2 separate regions of the Homo sapiens genome follow, and region 1 is linked to region 2. Evidence: promoter capture Hi-C in human tissues and cell types (Jung and others, 2019). All regions are on one chromosome and are shown on one strand. Each heading gives the region's core, a stretch centred on a gene start or on the middle of the fragment in contact. The rest is flanking DNA. Distances are from core to core; before and after follow the strand shown.

Region 1 (5,436 bases), core at 2,331-4,830, 320 kb before region 2:
TTTCTTTTTGGGGGGACAGAAATGTTTTGGAATTAGACAGTGGAGATGGTTGCAAAACACTGTGAACATACTAATAACCACTGAATTCTTCATTCATTCATTCATTCATTCTATTTATTTATGGAGACAGGGTCTCACTCTGTCACTCAGGCTGGAGTGCAGTGGCATGATCTTGGCTCACTGCAACCTCCACCTCCTAGGCTAAAGCGATTCTTGTGCCTCAGCCTCCCAAGTAGCTGGTATTACAGGCATGCGCCCCCACACTCAGCTAATTTGTGTATTTTTAGTACAGATGGGGTTTCACCATGTTGGCCAGGCTGGTCTTGAACTCCTGGTCTCAAGTGATCTGCCAGCCTTGGCCTCCCAAAGTGCTGGGATTATAGGTGTAAAGCATCACACCTGGCCAAATTGCACATTTTAAAATGGTGAAGTTTATATCCTGCAATTTTTTTTTTTGAGATGGAGTCTCGCTCTGTCGCCCAGGCTGGAGTGCAGTGGCGCGAGCTCTGCTTACTGCAAGCTCCGCCTCCCGGGTTCACACCATTCTCCTGCCTCAGCCTCCCGAGTAGCTGGGACCACAGGCGCCCACCACCATGCCCGGTTAATTTTTTGTATTTTTAGTAGAGACAGGGTTTCACCGTGTTAGCCAGGATGGTCTTGATCTCCTGACCTCGTGATCTGCCTGCCTCAGCCTCCCAAAGTGCTGGGATCATGCAAGTTTTTTTTTTTTTTTTTTTTTTGAGACGGAGTTTCACTCTTGTTGCCCAGGCTGGAGTGCAATGGCACGATCTTGGCTCACTGCAACCTCCACCTCCCGGGTTCAAGCAATTCTCCTGCCTCAGCCTCCGGAGTAGCTGAGATTACAGGCATGCGCTGCCACGTCTGGCTAATTTTGTATTTTTAGTAGAGATGGGGTTTCTTCATGTTGGTCAGGCTGGTCTTGATCTCCTGACCTCAAGTGATCCGCCCACCTTCGCCTCTCAAAGTGTTGGGATTACAGGCGTGAGCCACCATGCCCAGCCTTTTTTTATTTTTTTGAAGTGGAGTCTCGCTCTGTTGCCCAGGCTGGAGTGCAGTGGTGCAATCTTGGCTTACTGCAACCTCCGCCTCCTAGGTTCAAGCAAGTCTCCTGCCTCAGCCTCCCAAGTAGCTGGGACTACAGGCACCCGCCACCACGCCCAGCTAATTTTTGTATTTTTAGTAGAGATGGGGTTCACCATATTGGCCAGGACGGTCTTGATCTCCTGACCTCGTGTTCCGCCTAGCTCGGCCTCCCAAAGTGCTGGGATTACTTGCGTGAACCAACGCGCCCGGCTTATCATGCAAATTATGTATAAAAATTATGTTTTTTTCTTTTTTTGAGACAGTCTCTCACTCTGTTGCCCAGGCTGGAGTGCAGTGGCACAATCTCGGCTCACTGCAGCTTCTGCTTCCCAGGTTCAGGTGATTCTCGTGCCTCAGCCTCCCGAGTAGCTGGGATTACAGGAACGCACCACCATGCCCGGCTAATTTTTTAAATATTTTTAGTAGAGACGGGGTTTCACCATGTTGCACAGGCAGGTCTTGAACTCCTGACCTCTGATGATCTACCCACCTTGGCCTCCCAAAGTGATAGGATTACAGGTATGAGCCACTGCACTCAGCCTAAAATTATGTATTTTTAAGAACTGCTCAAAAAGTGCTATTTCCAACAATACATTTAGACCAAAATGCTTTTTCTCTTTTTTTCAAGATGCAGTCTCATCTCTGTCACAAAGGCTGGAATGCGGTGGCTTGATCTCAGCTCACTGCAACCTCTGTCTCTTGGGCTCAAGTGAGTCTCCTGTCTCAGCCTCCCAAGTTACTGGGATTACAGGCATGTGCCACCATGCCTGGCTAATTTTTATATTTTTAGTAGAGACAGGGTTTCACCATACTGGCCAGGATGGTCTTGATCTCCTGACCTCAGGTGATCCACCCGCCTTGGCCTCCCAAAGTGCTGGGATTACAGGCGTGAGCCATCATGCCCAGCATGCTTTTTCTCTTTTTAAAAAGTAGAGACAGGGTCTTGGTTTGTTGCCCAGGTTGGTCTTGAACTCCTGGGCTCAAGCAATTCTCCTGCCTCGTCCTTCCAGAGTATTGGGATTATAGCTATAAGCCACTGTACCTGGCCCAAAATGCTTTCAAAAACAATTAAAAATGCAGGATATTAGAAAAAAACTTACAGCATCAAAGAGCTGACAAGATAGTAACAGAACATTTTGGGAAAAAAGAAACCATTCTAAGAAAAGCACAGAAGACCCCCTCTGCCCTATGGACATTTGCTGATCTTAGAAAACCTGGGCTGACGGCCGTGTGTGGTGGCTCATGTCTGTAACCCCAGCACTTTGGGAGGCCGAGGCGGGCAGATCACCTGAGGGCGGGAGTTCGAGACCAGCCTGACCAAGACGGAGAAACCCTGTCTCTACTAAAAATACAAAATTAGCTGGGCATGGTGGCGCATCCCTGTACATCCCAGCTACTCGGGAGGCTGAGGCAGGAAAATCGCCTGAACCCGGGAGGCAGAGGTTCCGGTGAGCCAAGATTGTGCCATTGCACTCCAGCCTGTGCAACAAGAGCAAGACTCAGTCTAAAAAAAAAGAAAACAATTCTTTTAAAAACCTCATCAGCTCATCAGCGCCTGTAGTCCCAGCTAATCAGGAGGCTGAGACAGAAGGATTGCTTGAACCCAGGAGGCGGAGGTGGCAGTGAGCCAAGATCACATCACTGCACTACAGCCTGAGTGATACAATGAGACTCTGTCTCTAAATAAATAAATAAAAATGAAAATCTCATCAGACATTAAAATGTCCAGCTTGAACTTAAAAGTGCCAGTGAAAACTAACACTGTTCTTCAACCCACCTCCCCTCCTGAGAGGAAGCTACTGCTATGTTGCTTGTGTATCCTTCTGGAAAGAACTTGAGGCATACATAGGCATATATAAATGTATTACTAGCCACTCTGTAAAAACCTTACTTGTATTTTTTGTAATATACAAACCATCCAAACGTTAATCAATGGGAGAATGGATAAACTGCAGTACAATAACAACAGCAGATGCTGGACTATCACAGAACAATAAACATGAAGGAATCACTGCTACACACAATGGACGGTGACTCACTCAATTATAACGTTGAGCAAAAGAAGCCAGACTTAAAGAGTACATACTGTGTAATTCCATTATATAAAGTTCACAAACAGGCAGCACTAATCCAAGATGTTAGACATCAGGACAGGACAGGCGCAGTGGCTCACACCAGTAATCCCAGCATTTTGGGAGGCCAAGGTAGGAGGATCACTTGAAACTAGCCTGGGCAACAAAGTGAGACCCTGTTTCTATAAAGTAAAAACTTAAAATCGGCTGGGAACAGTGGCACATATCAGAGTTCGAGACCAGGCTGGGCAACATGGCCAAACCCCATCTCTACTAAAAATACCAAAAATTAGCCAGTCGTGGTGACGTGCGCCTGTAATCTCAGCTACTTGGGAGGATGAGGTAGGACAATCACCTGAACCCAGGAAGTTGAGGCTGCAGTGAGCTGAGATCACACCACTGCACTCCAGCCTGGGCAACCAGAGTGAGACCTTGTCTCAAAAAAGAGAGCCGGATGCAGTGGCTCACGCCTGTAATCTCAGCACTTTGGTAGGCCGAGGTGGGTGGATCACGAGGTCAGGAGATTGAGACCATCCTGGCTAACACAGTGAAACCCCGTCTCTACTAAAAAATACAAAAAATTAGCCAGGTGTGGTGGCGGGTGTCTGTAGTCCCAGCTACTCGGGAGGCTGAGGCAGGAGAATGGCGTGAACCTGGGAGGTGAAGCTTACAGTGAGCTGAGATCGCGCCACTGCACTCCAGCCTAGGCGACAGAGCGAGACATCTCAAAATAAAATAAAATAAAATAAAAATAAAATAATACCGGGCGCGATGGCTCACGCCTGTAATCCTAGCACTCTGGGAGGCCGAGGCGGGCGGATCACAAGGTCAGGAGTTGGAGACCAGTCTGGTCAACATAGTGAAACCCTGTCTCTACTAAAAATACACAAAATATTAGCTGGGTGTGGTGGTGTGAGCCTGTAATCCCAGCTACTCAGGAGGCTGAGGCAAGAGAATCGCATGAACCCGGGAGGCAGAGGTTGCAGTGAGCCAAGATCGTGCCACTGCACTCCAGCCTGGACGACAGAATGACACTCCATCTCAAAAAAAAAAAAAAAGCTTTGTGCAGTGGCAGTATGGCCAATGAGGGTTATGTGAGGTGTGATTATTGCTAACTAAAAATAAAAAAATAAAGAAGGCAGCAGGACAATGGCTTCCCACTTGTAAAGTACTCCAACAGTATACAAAGCACCATCCCCCTTTCTCCAATCTCATCTTCACAGCCTCCTTTCTCAGGCTACTCGGGCATACTACAACTGTCCCTTAAACTTATTGGCCTCACTCCTCTTCGGGGCCTTTGCTCTAACTGTTCCTCTGCCTGGAAGGCTCTTCCTCCAGATATCTGGTGAGCTATTTTTTTTTTTTTTGAGACGGAGTGTCGCTCTGTTGCCAGGCTACAGTGCAGTGCAGCGATCTCAGCTCACTGCAACCTCCGCCTCCTGGGTTCAAGTGATTCTCCTGCCTCAGCCTCCCGGGTAGCTGGGACTACAGGTATGCGCCACCATGCCCAGCTAATTTATTTTTAGTAGAGATGGGGTTTCACCATGTTGGCTAGGATGGTCTTGATCTCTTGACCCCATGATCTGTCCATCTCGGCCTCCCAAAGTGCTGGGATTACAGGCATGAGCCACCGTGTCCAGCCTTTGGTGAGCTATTAAGAACTCTCCACCAGATGGATCGCTTCAGGTCAGGAGTTTGAGACTAGCCTGGCCAACATGGCAAAACCCTGTCTCTACTAAAAATACAAAAATTAGCCAGGTGTGGTGGCGGCCTCTTATAATTCCAGCTACTCAGGATGCTGAGGCAGGAGAATTGCTTGAACCTGGGAGGCGGAGGTTGCAGGGAGCCGAGATTGCACCACTGCACTCTAGCCTGGGCGACAGACCAAGACTGTCAAAAAAAAAAAAAAAAAAACCAAAACACTACTCCCTCACCTCCTTCAAGTCTTAGCTTAGCTTAAACTTCACTTTCTCAACAAAGCCTGTCTGAACACCGTATTTAACATTGCAACCTGTGCTTCCCACCACCTCTGCCTTCCTTTACTCTGCAGTGCTTGGCAACTTCTTACTACATAGTTTGTTTAATTATAACATCTATTGTTTAATTATAACATCTATTGTTGGTAATCCCAGCACTTTGGGAGGCCAAGGCTGGCTGATCACCTGAGGTTGGGAGTTTGACACCAGACTGACCAACATGGAGAAACCCCATTTCTACGAAAAATACAAAATTAGCTGGGCATGGTAACACATGCCGGTAA
Region 2 (5,478 bases), core at 264-2,763:
GGATAGTCAGGGCCTGGGCACATGGCCTGAGCTCACTCAATGGTGGGAATGACGCAAGAACAAGTTTTGGAGCCGGGATCGGGCCAACAGGGGTCGCTGTGGAGGCACATGTGGTCGCGGGGAGGCCAAGGGCGGGTCTGAAGGAGAGCGGGGGCGGCTGCACCCTGGCATTCACCTGGGGGTCACCCGCAGGCCGCAGTGCTGGCCAGGGGCCCACGTCTCATCCTGGAGGCCACTGCTCGGGTGCACACAGCCCACTTCCTGCGGGCATCCAGCTGGGTGACGCCCCCCCCCACCGCTGGACAGCGGGTCCCTGTCATGGTTACGGCAGCTCCCCCAAACCTGCTCTGGTCCCTGGAATAAGGGGTTAAACCGGTCGGCTGACTTCTCCTGCTCCTCAAAGTCCAGACGCTTCAAGGTGGAGAGACGGGGAAACTGAGGCCAGAACGGGGTAGCTAGTTGTTCGCAGTCGCGCTAGGGGACCCGGTCCTCCGTATTCCAAGGGGGGCACCGTGGGCCATTAGGGAGCGACGGGGAAAGTGGAAAGGAGACGCGCTTCGTGCCCACCGCCCCGAGTTAGAGCCGAACCAGCCCGGGACCGAGCGAGACGGAGCGGCTGCGGGCCGCGTCTCGGGTCCCCGCGCCACGTTTAGTGCCGCTGCGGCCTCCCGGCCAGTCCCCCCTACTCTCTAAGCCTCAGTTTCCCGGTCTAGGAAAAGGGCTTCGAATGTTGCGGGTCTGGCACTGCTGGGGCAAAGGCAGAACAATCTGGAGGGCGGCCGGGATTGGAAGTCCGGGAAAGACTTCGGCCATCCAACATTCCCTGGGGGGACGGGGCTCAGGACGCGGAGGGTCGCTCCGCGGGGGAAGGGGACGACCGGCTGTCTTGGCCGGAGGGGAACCGGACGGGATGACCTCATCCGCGGCTCCAGCCTGGAATGCGGCGGTCGGGGAGGGGGGCAGGGTGCCTGTCCATCTCCCCGGGCCCCCCACCCCCCACTTCCCGCTCTCCGCGTGGGCCTCGGCGGAGGGGAGACATTCCGCCGCGTCGCCCGCTGCCCGCCCCGGCCCTTCCTTCCCCCGCGCAGGAAGGCGCGGAGACAGCCCCCGCTCTGCCCCTCGGCTCGCCCCCTCCTCGCGCATTTTGGCCGCTCAGCCGTGTCCGATCCTCTGCCCCCTCCACCAGCCTGGAACGGGACACGAAGCCCGAAAGCTCGGAGTTTCCTCGCGCGGCTCCGCGGCCGCGCCCGGCCTTCCTGTGGGCACCCGGGGGCGCCTCTCCCGGGCGGGTCCCGTCCCCGTTCCGGCCCCGGGAGCCTAGTAGGGTGCAGAGTCCCCGCGGGCGCCGGGACCCGCCGGCCTCCACGGCCTCCGCCCCGAGGACCCGCGCGCCCGGGCTGTTACCTGGCTCCGCGAGCCCCGGGGGCGCGGGACGAGGGCGGACTCGTCGTCTGCAGCGGCGGCGGCCGCGCGTCCCGGCTGGCAGCCCGGGAGAGTCGCTGGGCCGGTCTGCGCCGCCCTGGCCGCGGGCTCCGCGGGCTGGATCCGGGGGCGGGGGCGGGGTGTGGGCGCTCCCGCCTCCCGCCCGTCTCCTCCCGCCCGCGGGCGGGGCCCGGCCCCCTCCCCGGCCCCCTCCCCGGCACCGTCCTCGCGGCCGCCGAGAGCTGGCAGGGACGCGGCTGGGGGGCCAGGCCAGGCCTCTGCTCGCCACCCCGGACAAGGCCAGCCGGGGAACGTGCGGGCTGCCCCGGGGAGGCGACTCCGGTCCCCGGCCGCCAACCCCTCTTCCACCGGTTCCCCTCGTGGCCTTGCTTGGGGCGTCCAGGCCTGATGAACTCTCCTCCCTCCTGGGCCCTCCAGCCGCGCCCTGCGGGAGTTCGGGGAACCGGGAAGCTCGATCTGAGGCCTTGAATGCCTGGGCCTTTAAACCTTGATGTTTACAGGCATGACATGCCCACTCCTTTGCTCCCCATTCTCATTCCCTTCCATCCGGTACAGGCCCCGCGGTGCCCAGGAGGAAGACAGCCATACTGGGGCGACTGGTAGAGTGGGGTAGAGTGGCCGTCAAGACCGGGACCCTGGAGCCGGACAGCCTGGGCTCCTGTCCTGCCTCAGTCACTACTTACCTTTCTCTGCCTCAGTTTCCTGATCTGAAAGTGGGATAGATAATAGCAGCATCAGATGTTGTGTGAAGTGTTTCCTGCTCCAAGAGCACCTAGGAGGCTTGCTCGGCAGGTAAATGAAGTCGCATCTCAGAGACTTTACAGACCCTCCCCCCACCCCGCCCACCTCCATGGAGGGCAGGGAATCAGCCATACCCGGGACCCTGTGCCATCCTCAAGGAGGGGAGATAGATCTCTGGCCCCTGCCTCCCGTTGTTGTGCCCTCCTTTGACTACTCCCATCTGACTATAGAGTCCTCGGGCTGTCAGGGCACAGAGAGGTCCCTAATACTTCCTGCAGGGCCTGGGGGCTCAGGAAATCTTCCTAGAGGAGATGATACCTGAGTTAAGTCTCTCTCTCTCTCTTTTTTTTTTTTTTTTTTTTTTTTTTTTTTTTTTTTTTTTTTTTGAGACGGAGTCTCTCTCTGTTGCTCAGGCTGGAGTGCCATGGCATGATCTCAGCTCACTGCAGCTTCCACCTCCCGGGTTCAAGCGATTCTCCCTCCTAAGCCTCCGGACTAGCTGGGATTACAGGCACCCACCCACGCCCGGCTAATTTTTGTATTTTTTAGTAGAGAGGGGGCTTCACCATGTTGGCCAGGCTGGTCTTGAACTCCTTACCTCAGGTGATCCGCCTGCCTTGGCCTCCTCAAGTGCTAGGATTATGGGTGTGAGCCACTGCATGGTTGTGAGTTAAGTCTTAAAGGACGTGTAGGCAGAGGGAAGGGCAGTGGAAATGCACAGTGCACAGCTGGCAAGGGACAGCACAGCAAAGGCTGGGAGTGGAGGACCCTGCAGCGGAGGCAAACCCGGCTGAAGGAGACTGGCTGAGCGCTGTTGTGGCCGGGGATGAGGAGCTGTATTTACCCGCAGGTGGAGGAGACAAGGTCTTTACTGTTCACCCAGGGGCTAGGCCTCTTCCACTGGCTCCCTGAATCCCCATGCTGGCCACCAAGGGAAGGAGCTATTTCTGCAGCTGGACAAATGAGGAAACAGAGGCACAAAGCATTCTAGCATTTGCTCAAGTGGCACAGCAGTAGGAACTCTTTCCCTGGGGGCCGGCCCAGGAGTATTTTGTCCCATGGAGAACTGGAACAGCATCAGGACAGTGAGCCAGCAGGCAGCACTGGCAGGTGTACATTTAGAAGACTGACTGTTGCCCGGCGTGGTTGCTCACGCCTGTAATCCCAGCACTTTGGGAGGCTGAGGTGGGCAGATTACTTGAGGCTGGGAGTTTGAGACCAGCCTGACCAATATGGTAAAACTCCGTCTCAACTAAAAATACAAAAATTAGCCAGGCGTGGTGGCGGGTGCCTGTAATCCCAGCTACTCGGGAGGCTGAGGCAGGGAGAATTGCTTGAACCTGGGAAGCGGAGGTTGCAGTGAGCTGAGATCGCACCACGGCACTCCAGCCTGGTCAACAGAGCGAGACTCCATCTTAAAAAATAAAAATAAAAAAGTGCCGGGCGCGGTGGCTCACACTTGTAATCCCAGCACTTTGGGAGGCCGAGGCGAGCAGATCACTTGAGGTCAGGAGTTCGTGACCAGCTTGGCCAACATGGTGAAATCCTGTCTCTACTAAAAATACCAAAAATTAGCCGGGCATAGTGGTGGGCGCCTGTAATCCCAGCTATTCAGGAGGCAGAGGCAGGAGAATTGCTTGAATCTGGGAGACGGAGGTTACAGTGAGCTGAGATCGTGCTACTGCACTCCAGCCTGGGCGACAGAGCGAGACCCCATCTCAAAAAAACAAAAAACAAAATAGAAATCTGACTGTGAGTGAAGAATGGACTGGAAGGACAGTGATGGAAACAAAGAACTAGTGCTACTGTGGTTATTACTATTAATAGCATCAGTAGTAACCAGCACTTATTGAGCACCTGATGCATACCAGGTCCTGTAGCTCATTAACATGCATTATGACATTTAATTCTTGTGAGAGCCCCATAGGGAAAGTCCTGCCATGGTGTCCCTTTTGCAGATAAGTGAAGTGATTTGCGTAAAGCTCCCTACTTTGGCAGGATGGCCATACTTTCCAGTTTGCCTAGGACAGCCCAGATTACACATACTGTTCCAGTGTAATTATTAATAGCACTTCCTTTCATTCTCAAAGGTGACCTGGTTAGACAATCAATTACACGTCACTCTAGTCAGAGGATCCCTAGAGCGGCTGGTAAAGGAGGCAGTCTGGTGCAATGTCAAAGGCCCTGAGCTCAAATCCTGGCCCAGTGGCTGACCGTGGGCAAAGCACTTGGCCCATTTGAGCCTCAAGTTTCTCATCTCTGAAATGGGTATAATAGCAGTGTGGGTATTTACTAGTTGGGGTGTTGTGAGCCCCAGGCAGATGACTGAGCAAGCAGTCCTGATGGAAGTGGTTACAACCTGCCCCATGCTTGCTCCATCTTCTTCACCCGCGGGCAGGGAGGGCAGGCAGGAAAGAACAAGAGGTTGAGAACCTCCCTACTATATATGCCACACGCTTTGTCTTCTCCAGCTCATTGACAGGCAACCTGTGAATCAGGAATTCTTGCCCCCTTTTACATCTGGGTAAGCTGAGGCAGAGAGGAGCCCTCTCCCTCCTTTGCAGCCTGCCTCCAGATAGAAACCTATCTCCATGTAGGCTGTGCCCTTGTTCCTGGCTCCACTCCTGATTTAAGGATCTGACTCAGTTTTTCCCTCTGGAAAACGGGAGAAAGGGAGAAGTTTCAATATCCCCAAGAAGGATCCAGGGTTGGGCAGTCTCCCTTTATCATGCTTTTCTCCTCCCCCAATTTCCTGCGGTCCCCTTCCTTCCCTTTGAGAGGCTGTGCCCAGGAGTGCAGGGGTTAACCTTGGCAGGGCTGTAATCATCGTGCAGAATGCAGAACAAATGCCTCCCAGCTGGGGACGGGGAGCTGCTAGGTGAACCAACCGCCCAGAGCTCAGGATCCCCTACCTCCCTGTCTTGAAGGAACCAGGCTCCTCAGGCTATAGTCCCAGGGCTCAGCTGCCCCCTCCACTCAGCCCAGCAGATTGGGTTGGCCAAGGCAAGGGGCCTAAGGGAAGGAGGCAGGTCCTGGGCAGGGAGCAGTCTATGGAGCCAGGGAGGAGGGGGCAGGGCAGAGCTACGGAGAAGTATTTCCTCCTTGGGGACCCAGGAATGCCAGTGGCTGCTTCCAGGTTCCAGGGAGGTTTGGGATGGGAGCCTTCAACTGAGGCCACAACTATCAGCCCCTCCCTAGGGTGCATGTCCCCTTTGTACCCCAAAGTCTGGCTGGGCTTTTGGTCAGTTAATGCATCTGCTCATTGACCACTGATTGGTCTTTCCCGTTCTCCAG

What was found. The method cuts DNA at HindIII sites, captures the fragments that hold promoters and counts their contacts. A contact is called where the count stands out against the background at its distance.
Region 1: a contact is called between a fragment that was not itself captured here and the fragment with the promoter of CDC42EP1 in region 2, in 1 of the 25 tissues and cell types used here (liver).

The regions. Positions count from the first base shown.
Region 1 is chr22:37,878,601-37,884,036 of GRCh38, reverse strand. The region is part of intron 11 of EIF3L (eukaryotic translation initiation factor 3 subunit L); the gene reads right to left. Among named protein-coding and RNA genes, the nearest start is that of MICALL1, 25 kb to the left of the region's middle. RefSeq lists a silencer at 3,800-3,959. The HindIII fragment of the contact is 6,851 bases long and covers 155-5,436 here.
Region 2 is chr22:37,556,515-37,561,992 of GRCh38, reverse strand. CDC42EP1 (CDC42 effector protein 1) reads right to left here and starts at 1,513. Exons shown (of 3, transcript NM_152243.3): 1 at 1,405-1,513. RefSeq lists enhancers at 1-194, 1-270, 271-877. The HindIII fragment of the contact is 19,033 bases long and covers 1-5,478 here.